2 separate regions of the Homo sapiens genome follow, and region 2 is linked to region 1. The links are contacts of gene promoters, found by promoter capture Hi-C in blood cells and fetal thymus (Javierre and others, 2016). All regions are on one chromosome and are shown on one strand. The core of a region is centred on a gene start or on the middle of the fragment in contact, and the rest is flanking DNA. Distances in the headings are between cores, read along the strand shown.

The links. Contacts are between HindIII fragments. The CHiCAGO score rates a contact against its expected background, and 5 or more counts as called.
Region 2: a contact is called between a fragment that was not itself captured here and the fragment with the promoter of MAPRE3 in region 1, in 2 of 17 cell types (naive B cells and total B cells). The highest score is 6.1, in naive B cells.

What each region holds. Positions count from the first base shown.
Region 1 is chr2:26,966,569-26,971,978 of GRCh38, forward strand. MAPRE3 (microtubule associated protein RP/EB family member 3) reads left to right here and starts at 4,069. Exons shown (of 7, transcript NM_012326.4): 1 at 4,069-4,234. RefSeq lists a silencer at 3,954-4,283. The HindIII fragment of the contact is 16,247 bases long and covers 1-5,257 here.
Region 2 is chr2:27,164,127-27,169,256 of GRCh38, forward strand. No RefSeq gene overlaps it. Among named protein-coding and RNA genes, the nearest start is that of TCF23, 18 kb to the left of the region's middle. RefSeq lists an enhancer at 1,266-1,575. The HindIII fragment of the contact is 1,403 bases long and covers 1,637-3,039 here.

The DNA of each region.
Region 1 (5,410 bases), core at 2,819-5,318:
GAGGAAGATAATCTATTCTATATTTCTTCCGCCCTGTTTCCTTACATGAATCCCCCATCCCGGAAGTTGCTTCAGCAGGTCTGAGGACAGCCATAGGGATTTAAGCAGGATAGTTATGTGATAAGATTTATTTCTAGAAAGAGCCTTCTGACAATGGTGTAAAGAATGGATTGGAGATGAGAGAGGCTGAAGGCAGAGAGAGCAGGCGGGAAGCTCTGCAGTAACCCAGGCAAGAGATGGTAAAGGTGAAGCAGATAAAGAAGGGAAGAGTTTTGAGAGGCATTTAAGAAGTGGAGGCCAGGCACGGTGGCTCACGCCTGTAATCCTAGCACTTTGGGAGGCCAAGGTGGGTGGATCACTTGAGCTTGGGAGTTCTAGACCAGCTGGGAAACATGGTGAAACCCTGTCTCTACTAAAAACACAAAAATTAGCTGGCATGTGCCACATGCCTATGGTCTCAGCTATGTAGGAGGCTGAGGTGGGAGGATCACTGGAGCTCAGGAAGTCTAGGCTACAGTGAGCTATGATCACACCACTGCACTCCAGCCTGGGTGACAGAGCAAGACCCTGTCTCAAAGACAACAACAACAAGTGGAATTAGGGTCAGGCCCTGGGCTTACATCTGTAATCCCAACACTTTGGGAGGCCAAGGCTGGAGGATTGCTTGAGCCCAGGAGTTTGAGACCAGGCTGGGCAGCATAGCGAGACCTCATCTCTACAAAAAAAAAGAATCTAAAAGAAAATTAGCCAGGTGTGGTGGCACACCCCTGTGGTCCCAGCTACTTGGGAAGCTGAGGTGGGAGGATTGTTTGAGCCCAGCATGTCAAGGCTGTAGGTGAGCCGTGATCACGCCACTGTACTCCAGCTTGGGCAACAGAGCAAGACCCTGTCTTAAACAAACAAACAAGCTAAAGAAGTGGAATTAACAGTATTAGAAAACTGTCCTGGGGCTGGGTGTGGTGGGTGGCTCAAGCCATTAATCCCAGCACTTTGGGAGGCCGAGGCAGGTGGATCACATGAAGTCAGGAGTTTGAGACCAGCCTGGCCAACATGGCGAAATCCTGTCTCTACTAAAAATACAAAAATTAGCCAGGTGTGGTGGTGCATGCCTGTAGTTCCAGCTACTCGGGAGGCTGAGGCGTGAGAATCGTTTGAACTTGGGAGGTGGAAGTTGCAGTGAGCTGAGATCGTGCCACTGCACTCCAGCCTGGGTGACAGAGCAAGACTCTGGCCCAAAATAATAATAACAATAACAATAATAATAATTTGCAAATCATATATTATCTGATAAGGGATTTATATCCAGAATATATAGAGAAATCCTAAAACTCAACAACAATAAACAAACGGTCCGATTCAAAAATGGACAAAGGACTTGACTAGACATTCGTGCAAAGAAATTACACAAATGATCTATAAGCACTAAGACAACATAAAAAGTCGTCCAGCAAGCACCCTGCTGTTTAAGTTTCAGCCACCTTCTGACTCACACCTTGAGCTAGAACCATCCAACTGCGGGCTTTCTGAATTCCCATCCCACAGAAATAGAGATAACGAAATGGTTGTTGCTTTAAACCACTGAATTGGAGTGATTCATTTTGTAGCAATAGTTAATGGCACATAGTAAAATGTTAATATGTAGAGAATCTGGGTGAAGGGTATATAGGAACTCTTTGTAGAATGGTCCTCTACCTTGTGTATGACAAAGGGGTGGGGTTACAAGGATCATAGCTTCTTCTCAGGATTACTCAGGACAGTCTACACCACCCAAGTCTATACCTGTAACAATGAAGCTGAGCTGGAACTTCAGAATGGGAAAGCAAGATAAACTGAGCGTGCGACTTCCCTATTGCCTTGGTGACACCCAGATACCCTGCAGATGCAGTTAGAAACAGCTCCAGTTGTCCAACTCTGTGGCTAGAAAAAAGTGTAGCCTGGGTTTTTACTCTCCTAACCCCTTGATTTGTTTTGGGAATTATTGTCTACAAAGAGCTCTCTCCTTTCTGATAATTGCTTTAGGTGGAAGAAGAGAGGATATGCTGTGTCCCCTCTCTTTTCTTACTTACTCTATTTGTAACTTTCTTCTTTTTTCCCCAAGAAAATGGGCTTAGTTGGGGTGCTTTGGCACCAATAGTCCTGCGGCGGAATCTGTGGGAGCTAGACAGGGAGATTTGGAAGAGAATGCTAGGTTGTGAGCTCTTGCTTTTGAGTTGTTTGAAGAGAATGCTGCATCTCTGGCATGTCAACAAGCCCAGCAGAATCCAGTAACGTTCACCAAGAAGGCTTGATTAGAGCTGGTTAGGGGATGATCAGGATGGTTAGGTGTGAAGAGCTTACGCTGATTATGGAGGGTATGGGAGTCACGGGGTTGGTACCCAGTGAGGAAATTTACCTTAGTAGAAACATTTGGGATAGTGTAGAAGAGAGAAGAGCTAGAGGCGAGGATTCAGGAAATAGAGAATGCCAGAGTCTCAATTAACAGGATGGAAAGCTAAGGAGATGAAAGACTTATAATAGTAGCATAGTACTAAAAGACAAACTATGTGTAAAGGTATTAGAAATGGGGACTGGGACTCTGAGGCAGTTAGGCCAGAGAAAAGAAGAAGGAAAAGATTTGTCTTCATTTGATTCAATTACATAAGCATTTCTCAGAATCTGCTATGTGTCACATGCTGTGGTGGATGCTGAGGGAGCTGATGAAAAAGACAGAATTCCTGCCCACCAGGGTCACATAGTCTGGAGACACAGACACGTAAACAAATGACGATAGTGTAAGGTGTGTGTAAGAAAGGAGGAATGTACAGGGTTGGTACAAAGGTGACCTCAAGGCATCCATGGGAATCAGGGCTGAGGGAGGAAGAGCCAGAAGACATCAGCACAAAGAGAACCAAGATGCTGAAGTCACAGGGGGAAAGAACATACTGGAGCCCCGGGCAGAGCAGTGCTGGACAAGGACAGCAAGTGTGGAGAGGAAAGGGAGATCCAGAAGAACCGAGGAGATCCATAACAGCATGCTTGGAGGAGGAAATTCGGGAAAACGAATGGACATGTCAGAGGGAGCTAGTTATGAGGAAGTGGACTGCAAACCAGATAGTGAGCAAGATGAAGAAATGAGGTGTTTATCCTTGCAATGGGAGAGAGACAATAAGGCTGACAAAAACTCAAGTGGTCTGTGGATAGACGATTTCGTTAGCTCGATTTAAGGGTAAAGGGCACACTCTCTGGTAGGAGATGAAAGGGGATGTTTAAAACAGGTAGAAAAAAATTGGGCCGGGCGCGGTGTCTCACGCCTGTAATCCCACCACTTTGGGAAGCCGAGGCAGGTGGATCACCTGAGGTTAGGAGTTCGAGACCAGCCTGGCCGACATGATGAAACCCCTGTCTCTACTAATAATACAAAAACTTTGCCAGGCATTGTGGCGCACGCCTGTAATCCCAGCTACTCGGGAGGCTGAGGCAGGAGAATTGCTTGAACCCAGGAGGCAGAGGTTGCAGTGAGCCAAGATCGCGCCAGTGCACTCTAGCCTGGGCGACAAGAGTGAAACTCCGTCCCAAAAAAAAAGAAAAAAAAATGAATTTGGGAATTAGAGAAAAAGACTGTGATTGGAACCCACACACCAAGAGAGGAGATAAAACCCAGCCTTAGCTCTTCCATGTCGCTGAAAGAGAAGAAAACGTCTCTTTTTCCTTTTCCGTAGCCATAAAAGATGAAAATCCGTCATCCAGCTACTGAAATCAGGTGCACACGGTTGTTCCTCCTGTGATGAGACAGGGCGGAGGGATTGTTACCCTGTTGCCAGGGAAAAAGGAAGGGGCTGTTCCCAGTTGCTATGGTGACGAGGTAGGCGCGTTCCCTCGGTACCGCCGCACACGTCTGAAGCGGTCTCTTCTCCTCGTTGCTACGGCAACGCAGTGGGCCTGTTCCTGTCGCCCCCCGCCTCCCGCCGCAATCGCTAAGGCAAGGTGGAGGTAGGGGCTGTCCTCCCGCGGCTCAGTTGCCTTGGAGACGGCGGGTGCCCTGGCCCCGCCCCGCTCGGACTGACAGCGGCGGCCGCATCGCGCCTGCGCAGTGCCCTCGTCCCCCGCAGTCTCTGTGCGTTGAAGCCGGAGACCGCGGCGGCCTCAGCGAGGACCCTCCGCCCCGGAGCCGCCGGCCGGAGCCGCAGCCTCTGCCGCAGCGCCCCCGCCACCTGTCCCCTCCCCCTCCGCCTCCGCCGGAGCCGCCTCGTGCACTGTGAGTCCGGGCCGAGGCGACGGACGCCGTGGGGCTGAGTCAGCGGGAGGCCAGGGCCCGGGCTGGGGGAGGGGAACCGGGCTCCCCCCGCCCCTGCCTCCCCACCCGCACTCCCGCATCCCGACCGCGCCTTCCCCGCGCCGGTCAACCCCCTCCATCCCTGTCGCCGGGTTCCCTCCGGCCTTGGCGGCCCGGCCTCCCCAGCCACTCCCCCTCCCCTTCCCTCCCCTCCCCTTCCCTCCGTCTCTCCGGGTCCACCTTGAGGCTCCTTCCCCACTAGACGTGGCCACCGCACCTCTGCCCTGGGCTGATATTTTCTCCAAACTACCTCCCGTCCGCCCTTATCCCTTCTCCCTCCTCCTCACTCCTCCTAGGCCTGACATCTCCCGGCCTCTCTGGATCTCCCCAGTGATGTGCCAGAAAAAGAGTGACAGGAGAGCGAGGGGAGACTTGGGGGAGGGGGAACATCGGGCCAGGCCCAGCCTGGGGGCCTCGGGTTTCTTCCCCACACGCTCCTGCCTGGCTGGTTTGGGGAAGCAGGTCTGGACAGTTCTCACTGGCTGCTCAGAGCTTGCAGGGCTTTCCGAATAGATTTGGCTGGGAAGGGTTCAGCCCCATCGTGATCATCTAGCGTTTAATGAACGCGGCTAGTGCCTGGTGGCCTTCTAGTGGGCTGAGCTACTGCCCGGCCGGTGTTGCGGAGCGGGGAGTAGAAGTAGTGGAGGGAAGGGAGAAGAGGTTGCGTTTGGGAGCTCCAAGTTCCTGCGCTTCCGGTGTGGTGTTGTGAATAAGCATCTTGCGGAACTCTTTAAAATGCTTTTTTTTTTTTTTAAATCGCACTACAACCCTGGTATAATGTGAGGTTTGGAAAAAGGCCTGATACCATCCATAGGAAGTGCTTACTGTTTATATATGAAGGGGCTGTGGCAGGACTTGATCTTGGATTCCTGTAAATTAACTAATTGGATAGTAGTGAGTTTTTAACATAACGTGTGCAGAGTTGAGAGGAAGGAGAAAAATCGAAGCTTCTCCATGGTGTAGGTGTGAGGCCTGTACACTGTGCCTCCTCCAGCTGTGTGTCTTTGTGGGGCTGTCACCAGATAGGGGTTCTAGCATATTTGGACAATTCCCTGGGTTATGTTTGCTACCCCTCCACCTGCCCATCTTGCAGTCCCT
Region 2 (5,130 bases), core at 1,088-3,587, 200 kb after region 1:
TAATAATAGATTTGAAAAAAAAGTTTCAAGAGCTCTGTGGTCAGAAGTCAGCCTAACTAGAAGTTTGTGAACGAAAAATAAAATCCTAAGTCCCCCAACTGACTGAACAGACCCCCTATTGGCCAAGGGGACCCCAGAGAAACCTGAAAAACTGAATTCCCAGCCACAAAGGTGTTGAGGAATAGAGTCAAACCCTGTGAAATATTTGAAGAGATTTATTCTGAGCCAAATATGAGTGACCAATGGCCTGTGACACAGCCCTCAGAAGATCCTCAGAATATGGTGGTTGGGCCACAGCTTGGCTTTATACATTTTAGGGAGACATAAGACATCACTTGGCTGGGCACGGTGGCTCACACCTGTAATCCCAGCACTTTGGGAGGCCGACATGGGTGGATCATGAGGTCAGGAGATCGAGACCATCCTGGCTGACATGGTGAAACCCCGTCTCTACTAAAAAATACAAAAATTAACCAGGCATGATGGCGGGCACCTGTAGTCCCAGCTACTCGGGAGGCTGAGGCAGGAGAATGGCGTGAACCCAGGAGGTGGAGGTTGCAGTGAGCCGAGATAGCACCACTGCACTCCAGCCTGGGCGACAGAGCGAGACTCTGCCTCAAAAAAAAAAAAAAAAAAAAAAGACATCACTCAATACATGTAAGATGTACATTGGTTCAGTCCAGAAAGGCAGGGCAACTAGAAGCTGGTGGAGGGCTTCTAGGTCTTAGGTAGATTTAAAGATTTTTTGATTGGCAATTGGTTGAAAGAGTTAAGTTACTGTCTAAAGACTTAGAAATGTCCAGGTTAAGATAAGGGGTTGTAGAGACCAAGGTTTTATGATACAGGTGAAGCCTCCAGGTCTCAGGCTTCAGAGAGAATAGATTGTAAATGTTCTTATCAGACTTAAAGAGTCTGTTCTATCAGTAAATCCAAAAGGGAGGAGGGTATCATGAGGCATGTCTGAACCCCCTTCCCATCATGGCCTGAACTAGTGTTTCAGGTTAACTTTGGAATGCCCTTTAGGGACAGGAGGAGTCCATTCAGATGACTGGGGGTTTAGACTTTTATTTTTGGTTTACAGTGGGAAGTGAGGTCCGACATGTCTTGTTATACCCCTCCTCCCTTTTGGTGTTTAGGCACAACTGACAAGCATTGTGGTTAAAACAGGGATTATAAGACTGGCAAAAGAGAGTATCTGTGGCAATAAGATACCAAATTTTGAACAACAATCTGTTAGGCACAAACAGTTTCTCTTCAAAAGTTTCAGTTCCTGGTTCTTTGTTCTATTCTGAAAGTAATGTTACCTGTCCATCTATCAGCCCTCCCTATCTCTGTTGCACCCAAACACGTCCAAGCATGTCCCATCACCTATGTGCCCGTCCTTCCCATCAAGTGCCCACCCTTGCCTCCTTCGATGATGTCAATACTAGCCAATCGGGATTAGCTTAGATCGTGCGGTCTGACTCCAGCCAACCGGGGGAGGACCCAGGAACAGGGTCTGCATTAGGGATAAAAATGCCTGCTCTCCTTTGTTCAGTGTGCTCCCTTGCCTCTGCCTTGCATGCAGGTAGCACCCTTCTATAGAAGTAAAATTTTGCCTTGCAGAGAAGTTATCTGAGTGCTCATTTCCTTTGCAAGCTTTATTTCCTGAGCTTTATTTCCAACAAATCTAATAACCAGGCAGAATTGGGGGAAAAATAGAATTTTCAGAAATTAAAAATATGATATTTTAATTAAAGACTCAATGAATGATTAGAAACTGCTAGAGGCCATGAAAGGCAAGGGTTAAATCATACCCAACAAACCATAAAATCTCATTAACTGGGTTTTTAAAATTAACGCAGTATACTGTGGCTTACTTTCCAACCTGACTGTGGCTTAGCACCACATGGCAGATTACAGGCCCTGAAGGAAATAAAAATATTTTACTCCAAAATGTATTTGTTTGGCATACTTTGAAATGGTCCTGCAAAGCTGTCTTTCGTGGGGGAAGTTTGTATCTGTAGAGAATCTCCACCACTGCAACCAGGTCTTCCTTTCTAGGCCTTTCCAAGATCTAGGAGAGATTAACTGAGAGGCTGACACTTTAAAAAATCTGAAAAGAGACATTTACCATCTATTCTTTCTGAGGGCTGGTCCCTGTGAGGCTTCATCTCCATAATAAGGGCCTTGGCACCCGTGACTCCCTTTTTTATTTGTCATTTTTGTTGTTGTTGTTTTTAGACAGAGTCTCACTGTGTTGCCCAAGCTAGAGTGCAGCGGCATGATCTTGGCTCACTGCAAACTCCACCTTTCAGGTTCAAGGGATTGTTGTGCCTCAGCCTCCCAAGTAGCTGGGATTACAGGCGTGCACCACCAGGCCCGGCTAATTTTTGTATTTTTAGTAGAGAGGGGGTTTCACCGTGTTGGCGAAGCTGGTCTTGAACTCCTGACCTCAAATGATCCACCCATGTCAACCTCCAAAAGTGCTGGGATTACAGGTGTGAGCCACCATGCTGCCCTGACCCTCTTACCTTAACACAAGCATTCTTTTCTACTGAATTCAAGTCTTTAAGCAATAGCTTAACTCTCTCAACCATCAACTAAAGAATTTCTAAAACCCACCCATGACTTGCAAGCTCCCACTTCAAGATGTCCCAACTTTTCAGGCCAAACCAATGTATACCTTTTATGTATTGATTTATATCTTTGCCTGTAACTCCTGTCCCTCTAAAATGTGTAAAACCAAAGTGTAACCTGACTCCTCAGGCACACTTTCTCAGGACCTCTTGAGACTATTCCCCTGGCCATGGTCACTCATATGGGCTCAGAATAAACTTCTTTAATATATTTCACAGAGTTTGGTTTTTCTGTTTACAAGCCAATACCCAGGCTATATGTGAGGCTGGGGGCTCTTTGCTTTTTCTCTTTTGGATTCTGTTTCTGGGAATTTTTTTTAGTTGATTGACACCTCTTACAAAAAAAAAAGTTTGATCCCTCTGCTTTCTGGTTGGCATGATTTTGCTGATGAAAATGTAAAACTTAATTGGCTTTTTAGAAAGCTTAAAACCTCCCCAAATTGGCTCCTCTAAGATTTGTTCTTCCATTTCCTGCCACTTCTGGTCCTCTATAACCCACACTCTATAGCTCAACACTGTACAGCCAATCATTAATCAATGTTATTTCTGTAAACCAATGAGAATTCCTGACAAACAACTTTGTATCAGCCCACTCCTTGTCCTCTTTTTTGCCTTTAAAAACCTGCTTGTAACAAAGGCCCAAGCCTCCACCCATTTCTGACACTATGGTAGACTAGATGTTCAGAGAAACTCTCCTGGTACAGAAACTCAAAATGATGGCTAAAATCGTAAAAACATATTCTTAAAAGTATTGCTTGCCTGGCAGAAAAGTAAGGGAAAAGAATAAGAGAAAGAATAAGGAAGCATGTAGCAAAAAATGGTAAGCCAGCACTCAAGTCAGTGCTGCCTTTGCAATATCTGCAAATTCCTGGTGCCCAAGGCCTGGGTCTTACGGGCCACACCTGGGGACAGGAGACAACACCTAGGGCCCATTCGAAATGGGAAGTTGGATCAGAGACTCTGTCACAAAGTTGGGATCCTCAAAAGGCAACACCCTCAGTAAGGATGTTTTGTTGTGGGGGAGGCCAAAATTTTAAAGTGGTCACGATTTAGTAGTGTTTCCTGGCACAAGCAGGTGCAAACCTTCTCTGGAGGAACACGTTTTAAATTCATGCAGTGGCCAGGCACGGCCACTCACACCTGTAATTCCAGCACTTTGGGAGGCTGAAACAGACCGATGGCTTGAGCCCAGGAGTCTAAGACCAGCCTGGGCAACATGGTGAAACCCCACCTCTACAAGAAATACAAAAATTAGCTGGGTGTGGTGGCACATGCCTGTAGTCCCAGCTACCCAGGGGGCTGAGGTGGGATGACTGCTTGAGCCCCGGGGGTTGAGACTGCAGTGACCCATGATCAGGCCACTGCACTCCAGTCTGGGTGATAGAGCGAGACCTTGACTCAATAAAAATAAGTAATAAATAAATCCATGCTTTGAAGGATTCCCATGGATACAATTCCAACAACCTTGAGCTTACAACAAACAATTTTAAAAGTCAGAAGGAGGCATGTCACTCTAAATGAGCAATAGCCGTACCATTGAACTCTAGAATCACACTTGAGAGGATTGCAAATCATGTAATGTTTAGGCATAGAATATACAGTAAAGATGTTTAATAGGTTTAAGGAAAGAAAGAGAATTCTGAAAAGACAATGCAGGAATAAGAGGCTGTCAAAAATAACCAGGCAGAATTGGGAAAAAATAGAATTTCTAGAAATTAAAAATATGATATTTTAATTAGAGACTCAGTGGATGATTAGAAACTGCTAGAAATAGGTCTAGCAGCCTGGGCACAGTGGCTCATGCCTATAATCCCAGCACTTTGGGAGGCTGAGGAGGGCGGGTCAGTTGAGGTCAGGAATTCGAGCCCAGCCTGGGCAATATAGTGAAACCCCATCTCTACCAAAAATACAAAAAAATTAGCCGGGCATAGTGGCACACGCCTGTCGTCCCAGCTATTCTGGAGGCTCAGGCAGGAGAATCACTTGAGCCTAGGAAACGGAAGTTGCAGTTAGCCAAGATCATGCCACTGCACTCCAGCCTGGGCGACAGAGGGAGACTCCGTCTCAAAAAAAAAAAAGAAAAGAAAAAGAAAAAGAAATAGATCTAGCAAATCAGAAGACGGATCTTTAGAAATTAACCAGATTTCAGTTCGTAGGGAGAAAGAGATGGAAAATATAAAAAGAAGAATAGATTATAAGAGAAGACCTTCATGTCCTTGGAATAGGGAAATATTTTTTTAGAGAAGACACAAAAAGCATTAACTCTAAAGGAAAAGAGTGAGAAATTATACTACATAAAGTTAGGAGCACCTATTCATCACAAGATACCGTTGAGAGAGTGAAAAAGACAAGTTCACAGACTGGGAGAAGATACTATTTGCCATATAACTCACATATTTAAAAGGGCTTCTATCAAGAATGTATTAAAAATCCCCACAGAGCAATAAGACAGAGACTGATAATTCAGTAGTAAATGGCTAAATGGGTTAGAAACACAGTTTTTTTGTTTTTG